Linked DNA regions of Homo sapiens: all the other regions are linked to region 2. Evidence: promoter capture Hi-C in human tissues and cell types (Jung and others, 2019). All regions are on one chromosome and are shown on one strand. Each heading gives the region's core, a stretch centred on a gene start or on the middle of the fragment in contact. The rest is flanking DNA. Distances are from core to core; before and after follow the strand shown.

Evidence for each region. The method cuts DNA at HindIII sites, captures the fragments that hold promoters and counts their contacts. A contact is called where the count stands out against the background at its distance.
Region 1: a contact is called between a fragment that was not itself captured here and the fragment with the promoter of CHTF8 in region 2, in 1 of the 25 tissues and cell types used here (small bowel).
Region 3: a contact is called between a fragment that was not itself captured here and the fragment with the promoter of CHTF8 in region 2, in 1 of the 25 tissues and cell types used here (dorsolateral prefrontal cortex).

The regions. Positions count from the first base shown.
Region 1 is chr16:68,822,644-68,826,470 of GRCh38, reverse strand. CDH1 (cadherin 1) reads right to left here. Exons shown (of 16, transcript NM_004360.5): 13 at 2,845-3,072. It also overlaps the pseudogene FTLP14. Among named protein-coding and RNA genes, the nearest start is that of TANGO6, 19 kb to the left of the region's middle. The HindIII fragment of the contact is 3,204 bases long and covers 871-3,827 here.
Region 2 is chr16:69,130,745-69,134,906 of GRCh38, reverse strand. CHTF8 (chromosome transmission fidelity factor 8) reads left to right here and starts at 2,319. Exons shown (of 4, transcript NM_001039690.5): 1 at 2,319-2,423. It overlaps DERPC (DERPC proline and glycine rich nuclear protein), which reads left to right and starts at 2,319. Exons shown (of 3, transcript NM_001002847.4): 1 at 2,319-2,423. It overlaps UTP4 (UTP4 small subunit processome component), which reads right to left and starts at 2,258. Exons shown (of 17, transcript NM_032830.3): 1 at 2,218-2,258; 2 at 1,289-1,449. The coding sequence starts at 1,447. RefSeq lists silencers at 2,210-2,569, 2,590-2,739. The HindIII fragment of the contact is 4,885 bases long and covers 1-4,162 here.
Region 3 is chr16:68,782,096-68,785,905 of GRCh38, reverse strand. All of the region lies in intron 2 of CDH1 (cadherin 1), which reads right to left. Among named protein-coding and RNA genes, the nearest start is that of CDH1, 47 kb to the right of the region's middle. RefSeq lists cis regulatory regions at 1,087-1,099, 1,564 and enhancers at 1,027-1,171, 1,492-1,636, 2,942-3,131, 3,162-3,281, 3,792-3,810. The HindIII fragment of the contact is 5,111 bases long and covers 1-3,810 here.

The DNA of each region.
Region 1 (3,827 bases), core at 1,223-3,722, 310 kb after region 2:
TTGTGCCCTTAAGAAACAAGAAATTGGCCGGAGGAGTGGCTCACACCTGTAATCCCAGCACTTTGGGAGGCCAAGGTGGGAGGATCACTTGAGCTCAAGAGTTTGAGACCAATGTGAGTAACATAGTGAGAACCCATCTCTAATAAAGAAAGAAAAAATAATCATAGAAGTTAAAAATACAAGAAATTGAAATTGAACATCTGAACTCTGGCATTGCCTCTGTTTTAAATGTTGCTCTACATGGGAATCCCCACCCCCAGTGTCTAAAAAAATACATACCCATAGCAAATTTAGGTAATCCTATTTAAAAAAAAAATATTTCAAGTATAACTACAATCTTTAAGATTCCCTGGCTGGGCACAGTGGCTCATGCCTATAATCCCAACACTTTGGAAGGCCAAGGTGGGAGGACTGGTTGAGACCAGGAGTTTGAGACCAGCCTGGGCAACATAAGGAAACACTGTTTCTACAAAAAAATATTAAAAAATTAGCTGGGTGTGGTGGCTCATGCCTGTGGTCCCAGCCACCCAGGGGTCTGAGGTGGGAGGATTGCCTGAGCCCCGGAAGTCAAGGCTGCAGTGACCTGAGATCTGAGATCACTCCACTGCACTCCAGCCGGGCCCACAGAATGAGAACTTGCCTAAAAAAAAAAAAAAAAAAAAAAAAAGATTCCCTTTAGAATGAATGTACTGGTCAGTAACCACTATACCAAAAGCAGACCAGGCCACTGAAATGTAATTTGACTAGGAAGTGGGCAGGCAGGGCTTGTGTTACCCTGCCCAAGGCAATGATGAATTAACCTAATCTCATGGCACAATAAAGCCATGTAAAGCCTGGCAGGATGAAAGTCCAGAAGGCTTGCTCAATTCTCAACAGCACTATCCTTTTCTTCAACTTTGGGAGGACACCAGGAGGGGGCAGAAGCAAATGGGATGCCCAGCAGACATTTCTGGAAGGTTGAAAGGCACCCTCTCCTGGAGTCCACTGAGGCAGCAGCAGCAGGATCAATGGCACCCATGCTCAATCTAAATTGAAAACCCTAGATTTGGTCCCACTGCTCCCTCCAAAATTCTTTTTCCATTCCCACCAGCTTGGCCTGGTCTCTGCTCTTCTAGGAGTCTCCTCAAGCCTCTGCTGTGCTTTGCTAGGAGGGGAACCTTCCTAAATACCCATCTGCCTGTTGGAATTCTACCAGCCCCTGTGGCCTAACCACTTACATCTTCCACAAAACTGTCCTTGAGACTCAATTAACAGCCTTTTCTGACTACCCTGACTACAAAGGCATTCATGAGCTGGACCACCCCTTGCAGTCACTAATTATATATGATCTTTAAACATTTCTTTTAAAAAATTTTTTTTAATAAAAAAATGTATTTTTTATTTTTATTTTGTAGAGACAGTCTTGCTTTGTTGCCCAGGCTGGTGTCAAACTCCTGGCTTCAAGCAATCCTCCCACCCTGGTCTCCCAAAGAGTGAGCCACCATACCAGGTCAAAGGTTTCTAATTGACTTGCTCTCATTTGCTGTGATAATCATTTGCTTGCTCTTCCATCATTCACATGTTTAAAGCCCTACCAGAGTTCTGATGTAGTGCACTCCTCCATATGGATACTTTGTCTTTTGATGCACATAGTCTGTTTTCATCGCTAATTTATTCCTTTAATAGATTCAGTACTTTCTCCCTGTGTGTAAATGATAAAAGTATTTACCTTGACCATAACAGCTCCTGTGTCACCCCTAGGGCTCACTCCAGGTGGGCTCCAATGGAAACAGGTTTAAGGACTATGGCAGAAACTGCCAATTTTCCTCAGCATCCTTTTTCTCCTTTATCCTTTTAGTCATTGACACTCACTGCTCACCCTACACTCCACCCCTACTCCATGTCAATTTTCAATTGTAAGTAGAAGCTTCCAGGTTCCCTTGCAGCTAGATGTGGCTGTGTTTGGGCCAATGGTATATAAGTGGAGGTGATATATGCAACTTCCAGTCGTTTGGCCTCCACTTCCTCTGTTATCCCCTTCCCCAATCTAGGATGGAATGTAGAGGTGGTGGTGGTGAGCTGGCTAGCTTAGACCACGCTGATGAGGGCAGCCCCCAAGGTCTTGCTACTCTGCCTATGGTCTAAGGAACTGCAACATCAGTACCGCCTGGGAGCTGGTTAGAAATGTAGAATCTGGCCGGGTGCGGTGGCTCAAGCCTGTAATCCCAGCACTTTGGGAGGCTGAGGCGGGTGGATCACCTGAGGTCGGGAGTCTGAGACCAGCCTAACCAAAATGGAGAAACACCGTCTCTACTGAAAATACAAAATTAGCTGGGCGTGGTGGCACATGCCCATAGTCCCAGCTACTCAGGAGGCTGAGGCGGGAGAATCGCTTGAACCTGTTAAGCAGAGGGTGCAGTGAGCTGAGATCACACCATTGCACTCCAGCCTCGGCAACAAGAGCGAAACTCCATCTCAAAAAAAAAAAAAAAAAAAAAAGAAATGCAGAATCTGTGGCCCTATGCCAGACCTCCTGGATCAGATTTCCCAGTTCAAAAAGAGGCCCAGATGATTTGTATGCTCTCAAGCTTGGGATGCACTGTCTTGAAGAATGAAAAGAGACAAGGTAGAAGAAACCTGGGTCCCCTGTTGACTTCATGGCCTTCCCATCTTAGACCATTTACCTCTGAAATGTTCAGTAAGAGACAAACTTCTATTTTATGGAGGCTGGCATAACTTGGGAGTCTCTTTCCCACATCAGCTAACCTATATCCTTATTAATATAAGAACAAAAATCATTTCCAGGAAATAAACCTCCTCCATTTTTTTAAGTCAAAGGCTGAGTCACTTGCCAGCTGGACTTACTTAGCAAAGCAAGAATTCCTCCAAGAATCCCCAGAATGGCAGGAATTTGCAATCCTGCTTCGACAGGCTGTGCCTTCCTACAGACGCCAGCGGCCCCTTCACAGTCACACACGCTGACCTCTAAGGTGGTCACTTGGTCTTTATTCTGGTTATCCATGAGCTTGAGATTGATTTTGTAGTCACCCACCTCTAAGGCCATCTTTGGCTTCAAAATGATAGATTCTTGGGCTGGAGAAAGCAATAAAAAGAAATGATGAGACCAGGGGAGGAAAATAAAAAGCTCATTCCAGAATAAAATTGCTAGTGAACTAAAGACACCCGCAAGCCGAGTGAAGAGAGCAGAGCTGCTTGGGTTTTATTTAGGTATGTACTTTTTTTTTTTTTTTTTTGCTGTAAAAAGCTTTATTTCCATTTGGTCTAAGGCTTGGGAGAGGGCTCTAGAGTTGGTTTAAAAAAGCTGCCTAGTGGCTGGAGGGAGAGGCTTAGGCAGAGCGGGGCTCTTCAGATGTCGCTGGGTTCGGTAGGCTCCCGTGTGCCTGAGGGTGAACCTTTTTGCCCAGCCCGGCCTGGAGGCCGGCTGGCCTGTGAAGGTTGGTCAGGTGGTCACCTATCTTCTTGATGAGTTTTACTTTTTCATCTAGGAAGTGGCTCTCCAGGAAGTCACAGATATGGGGGTCTGTGCAGGTGGAACCCAAGGCATGAAGATCCAAAAGGGTCCAGTTCAGGTTCTTCTCCAGGGCCAGAGTGACTTCCATCGCACCCAGGGTTTTACCCCATTCATCTTTACATGGCTTCTGGATGTCCGGGAAGACAGTGCGGCCGCCACACTGGTTTTGCATTTTCAAGGGACACTCAGCGCCCTTGTGCTTCTCCTTGGCCAATTTGTGGAAGAAGTGGTGCACACCTTCCAGATCCACATCGTCATGGTGGAAATAGAAGCCCAGAGAGAAGTAGGTGTAGGAAGCCCATATATGCAAATTGAC
Region 2 (4,162 bases), core at 1,070-3,569:
GAGACCAGGCTGGCCAACATGGTGAAACCTCGTCTCTATGAAAATAAAAAAATTAGCGAGGCATGGTGGCACACCTGTAATCCCAGCGACTTGGAAGGCTGAGGCAGGAGAGGGAGGCAGAGGTTGCAGTGAGCCAAGATCACGCCACTGCACTCCAGCCTGGGTGACAGAGCAAGACTCCGTCTCCAAAAAAAAAAAAAAAAAGAAAAAGAAAAAAAAAGAAAATCACAGGATGCAATAAGCACACGCCAGCGCATGTTCTTCATACCACAGAATGTAACCCATTTGTGGTGGTCCTGTAGTTTTTACCTTTTGATTAGTTCTTCAGGGGTGAGCTCAGTAAATCATCCCTTTCCACATTTCCTAAACCCACCTCTCAGGGAAGGCAATTCTCTGAATTGCCTTCCCTGAAGGCAATTCAATGAAGGTTCTATGCCTGTGTTTCGGTTTATCATATTTATTTTACAGGTTGGAAACTGTACACTTATCTTTCTCCCACTGGTCTTTGAGCTCCGTAAAGTTAGGGCCTCTGACATTTGTCTTAGTGCCCAGTATTTGCCACTCATTCACCGAGAAACATTTACAGAATGCCTAAATTCCAGGTACCAGGCTGCTGGGCACTGAATTCACTCATTTGCCCATCTACTCATTTATATCACAGCACCCAGTACATAACAGTCATTCAACATGAACTAAGATGTTGCACCCGAAGAAAATCACTAGTCAGTGCCCTTGGAGGGGAGAAGAAAAAGGACTAATAGACCTCTGCATACACCCAAAGGACATTTTACCTAATTTTAAATCTCCTTTACTCCCAAATGTAGACATGTAGGTCTACATTCTCTCAGACAGATGAACTTTGGAATCCATCTTCCCACATCACCAAAAAGTTTCTGATATTAAAACGTGTTATCATTTTTTCTGAATTGACAATGAAACAGTACTGATACTCCCTGCAGGAAATTTTGCTTACCAAAGCTGCAATGGTGTTGAGACTGATATACCAACAATTTCCCTTCCTGTGTCCAAAAGATCCAGCAAACCTCAGTTTCCAATGACAGGCAGTGAGATGTCACATTTCTAGGTAGGACCCTTCTAATCAACATTACACAGATTGAAACTGAGCTTCTCTTATCAGTTAGGAGATCTCAGAAGTTTGGTAGTTCTAAGCAACTTCAGAGGGGCTAGGAAGTCACTCAATCAGTTTGATTATAAAAGACATACAAGCTTCTTGAACTTCAGAAGAAATTAACATCAAAACACCATATCAGACTCCCAAATGACTTACTTTCTCCTGAAAGTAGTTTGCTGACAAGTTATAAATTTCCACAGTGCCATCTGTTCGTGAAACAGCCAATCTGTTTGACTGGTTATTGTAAGCCACACAGCGGATTCCTGATGGAACATAATTAAAGAAACGTACTCGATGGACCTTAAATTCACCCATTCCTAGGGGGCGAAAAGAGAGTCATTATTGCTATATGTTAACTGCAGTATGTCACATATAGTATTCAGTTCCTTAATATCACTGTTCTGGCTGGAAGGCTCCAACAACATCTCCCTGAAGTTCATTTCCAAATGGCTGCTAACAATGCCCCCCACAAGAATTACTCAATCTTCAAAAGCTCAGAATGGCTTGAATAATAAGGAGGCTTCAGCAAAAAATCAAAAAGGGTCCTACTCCATAGCTCCAGAGTTCCTATCTCGGGGCGCCTAGGAATCCGCATTTTAGCAAGCATCTCTCCTCAACTCTATTGCTAAGTTTGCAAACAACAGACCTAAACTGAGGTAGTGACAGTGAGGCTGATGGGGCAGGCAGAACCGAGCTCCTCTTGAGGAAGAAACGACAGGGTTTGACTTAATCTGGCTGCCTGGTCTGACGTCTGTCACTTACCCTACCCCGTCCCCCCGACGCCCGCCAACATATATACTGGCCGAGAGTAGAGACCAGGTCTTGTTCGCCCCTCACTGGCCTAGCTTCAAGGTTAGGAACCCGCAGACAGAGCAAGCGCGTTCGGTCGGGCCGGGGCGTCTGAGGCGCGCGCGGTCTTCGCCTCCCCTTCCCTCTCCCCGAGTCTACAGAGTAGCCCCCACCCCGCCTCGGGACAAGGAGACCCTCGGGACAAGGAGCTCAGCCGGACGCCGACCCTGGGCCGGCCACCTTGTAAGACCCCCCCAGCTCTCGCAGCCGCTTCCCACGCCCCTTCCCCAACTCACCAGCGGCCCCACGCTCCCCTTCCCGGTGCTCGCCTCTCTCCGCCCCGGCCCCACGTGCGCGCGCGCTCTCAGGCTCTGCCCCGGAAGTGCTCCTGGCGCATAGTCGGAAGTGCGCAGGCAGTGCTCGCGGCGGCGGCGACGGCGGCGGGAGGTTCGGTTGTCGCCCGTTGGCCGCGCGGCGCCGCGCTCGGCGGCCGCCATTGCAGGTCAGGCCGCGGGCGGGGGGCACGGGAGGCTGCGGGGAGCGAGGGCCGAGCCGGGATTGGGGGCGAGGGCGCGAGGGAGCGGGAAGCTAGGGAGCCGGGGCCGGGCGGGGCGCGCGGCTCGGAGAGAAGAATGGCGAGCCGAGGGGCGGGGAGCGCGGGCGGGGGAGGGGTGGCCGGGAAGGGGGAGGGCGGCGGGAGGGCGGCGCGGAGGTGGGGGCAAGCCCGGAGGGGCCTCCGGGGTGGGAGGGCCAGGAGTGTGGGGGAAGGGAGCGGTGTGGAGACGGAAGGCGGAGGGAAGGAAGGGAGCGAGCGGGGCGGAGCGGGAGAAGGGCGGAAAGGGTGGCCGAGCGCGGGCGGAGGACGGAGAAGGGGGCGGCGAGGGCCGGAATCTCGAGGTACGTGCGGGAAGGGGCTCTTCCCGGGGTTGGGAGGGAGCCCAGCCCGCTATGCTTGCGGGAGCGGAGTAGAACTGGAACCTAGGAAGTAGCGGGAAGAGCAGAAAGGGGAGTTCGGGGTGGGGGTTAGGACCGTGAGGTTTTGTTCCAGGTAACATTTGTAATCGTGGAGGGGGGAGGCTTCTGGGAGAGGTAATTGGAAGGGTGGTTGGAGAGTCATTCCAGGTTCTTTTGTGGGAGGGAAGCCGAGAGACGAGTGGGGTGGGGTCCTGGAGGAGTGGAGTACTTGAGAACCGGGAACAATTTGGAGAACGAGGGTGGTAGAGAAAGGACGTTTAAAGAGTAATCTTTGGGAAGAGGGTGAACGGTTTGGAAGACCACTCCAGTGGGTGGTGTGGAGGAAGGCGGTTTAAAGAATAGTTTCCCTGGGAGGCAGGAAAAGGGGTTAAAACAGCTTGTAATTTGGAGGGGGGTGGAGAAGAGGGGGGAAGCGGATTGAGAAGTCCCAGAAAGTGGGTGGGACTAGAAATAGGAAGTGTTTGTAGCTCTAGCAGAAAGGGTGGGAGGGGGCCGAGAGGGAGTGGGTGGAGAAGATGGGGGTGGGTGGGAGGAAGAGCACAGAGGGAGACTCTACGCCGGGCTAGAAAGGAAAGGGTTTGGGGGAGTACAGGGGGCCGTACCATTAAGAGGAGGACAGGCTAAGATGGGGCTGCAGAGTAGCAGAAGATGGAGAAAACTGCAGTAACTCAGATCGACTGAAGCCATCTTTTCCACCCATTGCTACAAATACCAGTAATTGATTCCCTCCAACGTGGGAATCCTAAAATGTGATGGGAAGTATCACGTGTATGCATAGCATCCACACACGTTTTTGAACACACTTCACTAATGTAAAGTTTGGAAGCATTCAATTCCACCAACCCTCCATAAGCCCCTTTTTGGAGGGGAGCAAGATTCTCATTTGGAAACAGGATTTTAGACTTAGTAACATAAGCCTTTCAAGAGACAAGATCCCCTTCAAAAGTATAGACCTGTCCCCTTCAGTTACAAAACCACGATAACACTACAAATAAAAATAATCTGTATTCGGTTGTATGTAAAACGTTCTGAGTTGTTCACTTGGTAGAAAGGCACATAGAGACATAGTCATCATATTTAGAGAAATTACCTTCCAGAACTTAATCCCTGAAGCAGTTTGGTGAACCACAACTGCCATGTTTGAATTCTACTGTTATGAAAACTTGATTTTATTCTGATGACCTGCTGCTTTCGTAGAATGCTTTAGTCCGTTATAAACATTAATATGCTAACACAGTGTAGTATTAAGACATTCTATTTGATGAA
Region 3 (3,810 bases), core at 637-3,136, 350 kb after region 2:
AAGCTTGCACACAAAAATGACGTATGTAAAAGGTTATTCACTAAGGCATTGTTTGTGCTAGCAAAACATGGGCGACAGCCCAAATAGCCATCAATAGAGGATTAGTTTAAATCAATTATAGAATTTCCTTACAATGAAATACTATGAACCTATTAAAAAAAAAAAAGCTCTTTATGCTCTGCAGGGGAATGATCGTCAAGACACATTATTGTTTGCTGATAAAAGCAAGTGCAAAGCAGTGCTATCTTTTGTGTAACTAAAAAGAAGGGGATAAGAAATAAGTTTATCCCTGTAATCCCAGCATTTTGGGAGGCTGAGGTGGGAGGATCACTTAAACCCAGGAGTTTGAGTCTGCAGTGAGCCACGACTGCACAACAGCACTCCAGCCTGAGCCACAGAACAAGACTCTGTCTTGGTCAGGCATAGTGGCTCACGCCTATAATCCCAGCACTTTGGGAAGCTGAGGTGGGTGGATCGCTTGAGGTCAGGAGTTGGAGACCAGCCTGGCCAACATGGTAAAACCGTGTCTCTACTAAAAATACAAAACTTAGCTGGGCATGGTAGTGCATGCCTGTAGTCTCAGCTTCTTGGGAGGCTGAGGGAGGAGAATCGCTTGATTCTGGGAGGCAGAGGTTGCAGTGAGCCGAGATCGCGCCACTGTACTCCAGCCTGGGCAACAGAGCAAGACTCCATCTCAAAGAAAAAAAGAACAAGACTCTGTCTCAAAGAATATATGTTCATATTTGTTTATAGTTACATATAGAACTTTAAAAGACACTAACAAGTGAGATTTTAGGTATGGGGGAGGCACCTTATTAGAACAAAGGGAGACAGGGTGGGAGTAGAACTTTTCATTGTATACTTTTTAGATTATTTTTTTTTCAATGGTGTCCATGTGAACATATAACCTATTCATAAAGTTAAAAATAATCCCTTCTTGCAATCACAGTGCAAAAGGCATGAGGGTGAAAGTCATCTGCTAAAATGACCGAACAGGAGGGTAGGAGGGGCCTGCTCCCGCCTCACCCTCCTGAGAAACTGGGATTAGAGACAGGAAACACTGGACCTAGGAACTTATAAGCTGTTAAAAAAAAAAAAAGAATGGAACTGGAGATTAGTATTCTAAGTGAAGTAACTCAGGAATGGAAAACCAAATATTGTATGTTCTCACTCATAAGTGGGAGCTAAGCTATGAGGATCCAAAGGCATAAAAAGATACAATGGACTTTGGGGACTTTGGGGGAAAGGGTGGGAAGGGGGTGAGGGATAAAAGACTACACAGTGTACACAGGTACAGTGTACACTGCTCCAATCATGGGTGCACCAAAATCTCAGAAATCACCACTAAAGAACTTGTTCACATAACCAACACCATGCAGGATGCAGGAGACCAGAGGGAGGGGTCCATGTGGGCGGTGGAAAGGAGGATGACCCACACATGATGGGAGAGGGAAGGGGGTGCTGCCGGCGGATGCTGGTCAGCTGGTCTAGCAAAAAAAAAATGCTGGATGTCAGTTGACCAGAGTCAGATGACCAGATTCTCTCTGGAGAATGTCAGGCAAGACCCCTGCATTTTTTCTGGGTTCGTTTTATCATCTGTAATGCACAGAGGCGGAACTGTACCAGCAAAGATGTGGGGCTCCAAGGCCTTGGACATCATGGCAAGTAGGAATCAGTATGGCTTTTTAAGAGAACATTCTGATCATGTTTATAGATTTTACATGCATAAATCCTTTCTTTCAGCAAAGCCCATTTTTAGGACTTCATCTCACAGAGGGACTCACACATTGCATCAGGGCAGATATACGGAGGGCCACTACAATCTTGTTTATGGTGGCAAAAGATAGACACATCATTGACAGAGGGCTGGATAAATCAATGATGGGCATCCACTCAATGGAAAATGATGCAAAAATTAAAAATCATGAAGGGCTGGGCACGGTGGCTCATGCCTAAATCCCAGCACTTTGGGAGGCCGAGGTGGGTAGATTGCTTGAGGTCAGGAGTTCAGGACCAGCCTGGCCAACATGGTGAAACTCCATCTCTACTAAAAATACAAAAATTAGCCAGGCGTGGTGGTAGGTGCCTGTAGTCCCAGCTACAAGGGAGGCTGAGGCTTGAGAATTGCTTGAACCCGGGAGGTGAGGGTTGCAGTGAGTCCAGATCATGCCACTACACTCCAGCCTGGGTGACAGAGCGAGACTCTATCTCAAAAAAAATAAATAAAATAAAAAGAATGAGGGAGCTGTTTAAAAAAGAATCAAGTAAGTGTATATGTAATAATATGGGAAGAATCTGTCTTTAAAGAGCACACAGCTAAATGGGATAGGGAATAGGCTTAGAATATCTTCAGAAGGAAACAAGAAATCGGTAACACTGCTTGTCTCAGATGAACTGCTGACAGGCAGACACTTTTAGGCTCTTAGGTACCATTTAAATTGGCTTGTGTTTGTTTTCCTATGTTCACATAAACAAACTTTTTTTTCTTTTTTTCTTTTTTCTTTTTTTTTTTTTTTTGAGATACTCTGTCACCTAGGCTGGAGTGCAGTGGCATCATCTTAGCTCACTGCAACCTTCACCTCCTGGGTTCAAGCGATTCTCGTGCCTCAGCCTCCTGAGTAGCTGGGATTACAGGCATGTGCCACCATGCCTGGCTAATTTTTGTATTTTTAGTAGAGACGGGGTTTCGCCATGTTACCCAGGCTGGTCTCGAACTCCTGAGCTCAGGATATCTGCCTGCCTCGGCCTCCCAAAGTGCCAGGATTACAGGAGTGAGCCACCACTCCCGGCCCTTTTTCTTTTCTTTAATGAGAGGGTTGAACCAAAGGAGGGATGGGTGTTCAGTTGACCGTAATCTCAATAGGCAACATGTGATGTGGCTTCCAAAACCAGATTTCAGTTGTGTTTTCAGAAATGAGACACTTAGGATATGGGAGACTATATAGTCCTTCTCTGATTCTATTTGTGGTTTGATAAGTACATTCTCAGGGTTGCAATCTGATGACCTCAATGATAAGTGCTGTTTTTTTTCCAAGAGTCATGCTCTAAGAGGAACACTGACCCATGGAGCTGGTCCAGGGACGGAGGGGCAAGGATGGGAAGGAACCCTGTGTGGGGTGAGGGGCAGGAAACGGGCTCACTGTCAACAATTCTAGGGCTGACTCCTTTGCGAAGGATCGGTCACAATGGCACCAGAGGGTAAGATGTGGGCCAGCGGAGAGAAGAAAGAACAAGATAATCTGACCCTACACAGAACTAGGCTGTAGCCTCCTGAACGCCCCCTCAAAGCACAGGTGGCTTTACCAGGTGCTGCCTCATAGAGCACTAACGGTCAGCGCTTAGGCCTGGAGTCTAGATAGATGTGGACTTGAATGCAAACTGTGCCTCTGACTAGCTGTGTTAACTTCAGGAAAGTTAAACGCTTGAGTCTTAGTTTCCTCTTCAACTACAGAGTGGCCCCCACCTGTCACAGTTGGTGGGAACATTTGAAGAGTTTGTATGTGGTAAGCTGCCGCTCCTGTTCTGCCACAGATGGCTTTTGCAGAACTCGAAACTTCTGCAACTGCCTCTGAGGTCACCCTAAGGAGAGGCAGTGCCCCCAAGGTGGGTGTGCAGGTTCCTGGGACAGGGCAACATCCCCAGGGCCTTCCCTGTAGGGTCAAATCCTGAGGGTGTGGACTGCCTCCCTGTGGCCCCCGTCCACGCCCTCAGGATTGGCCACTCCTGCCTTTGGGTGTGGTGGTCCCTTGCCTGTGGGGGGTGCCTGTGGAGCCAGAAGGAAGCCCTGAACTTGAGAAAGTCAATCCTTTT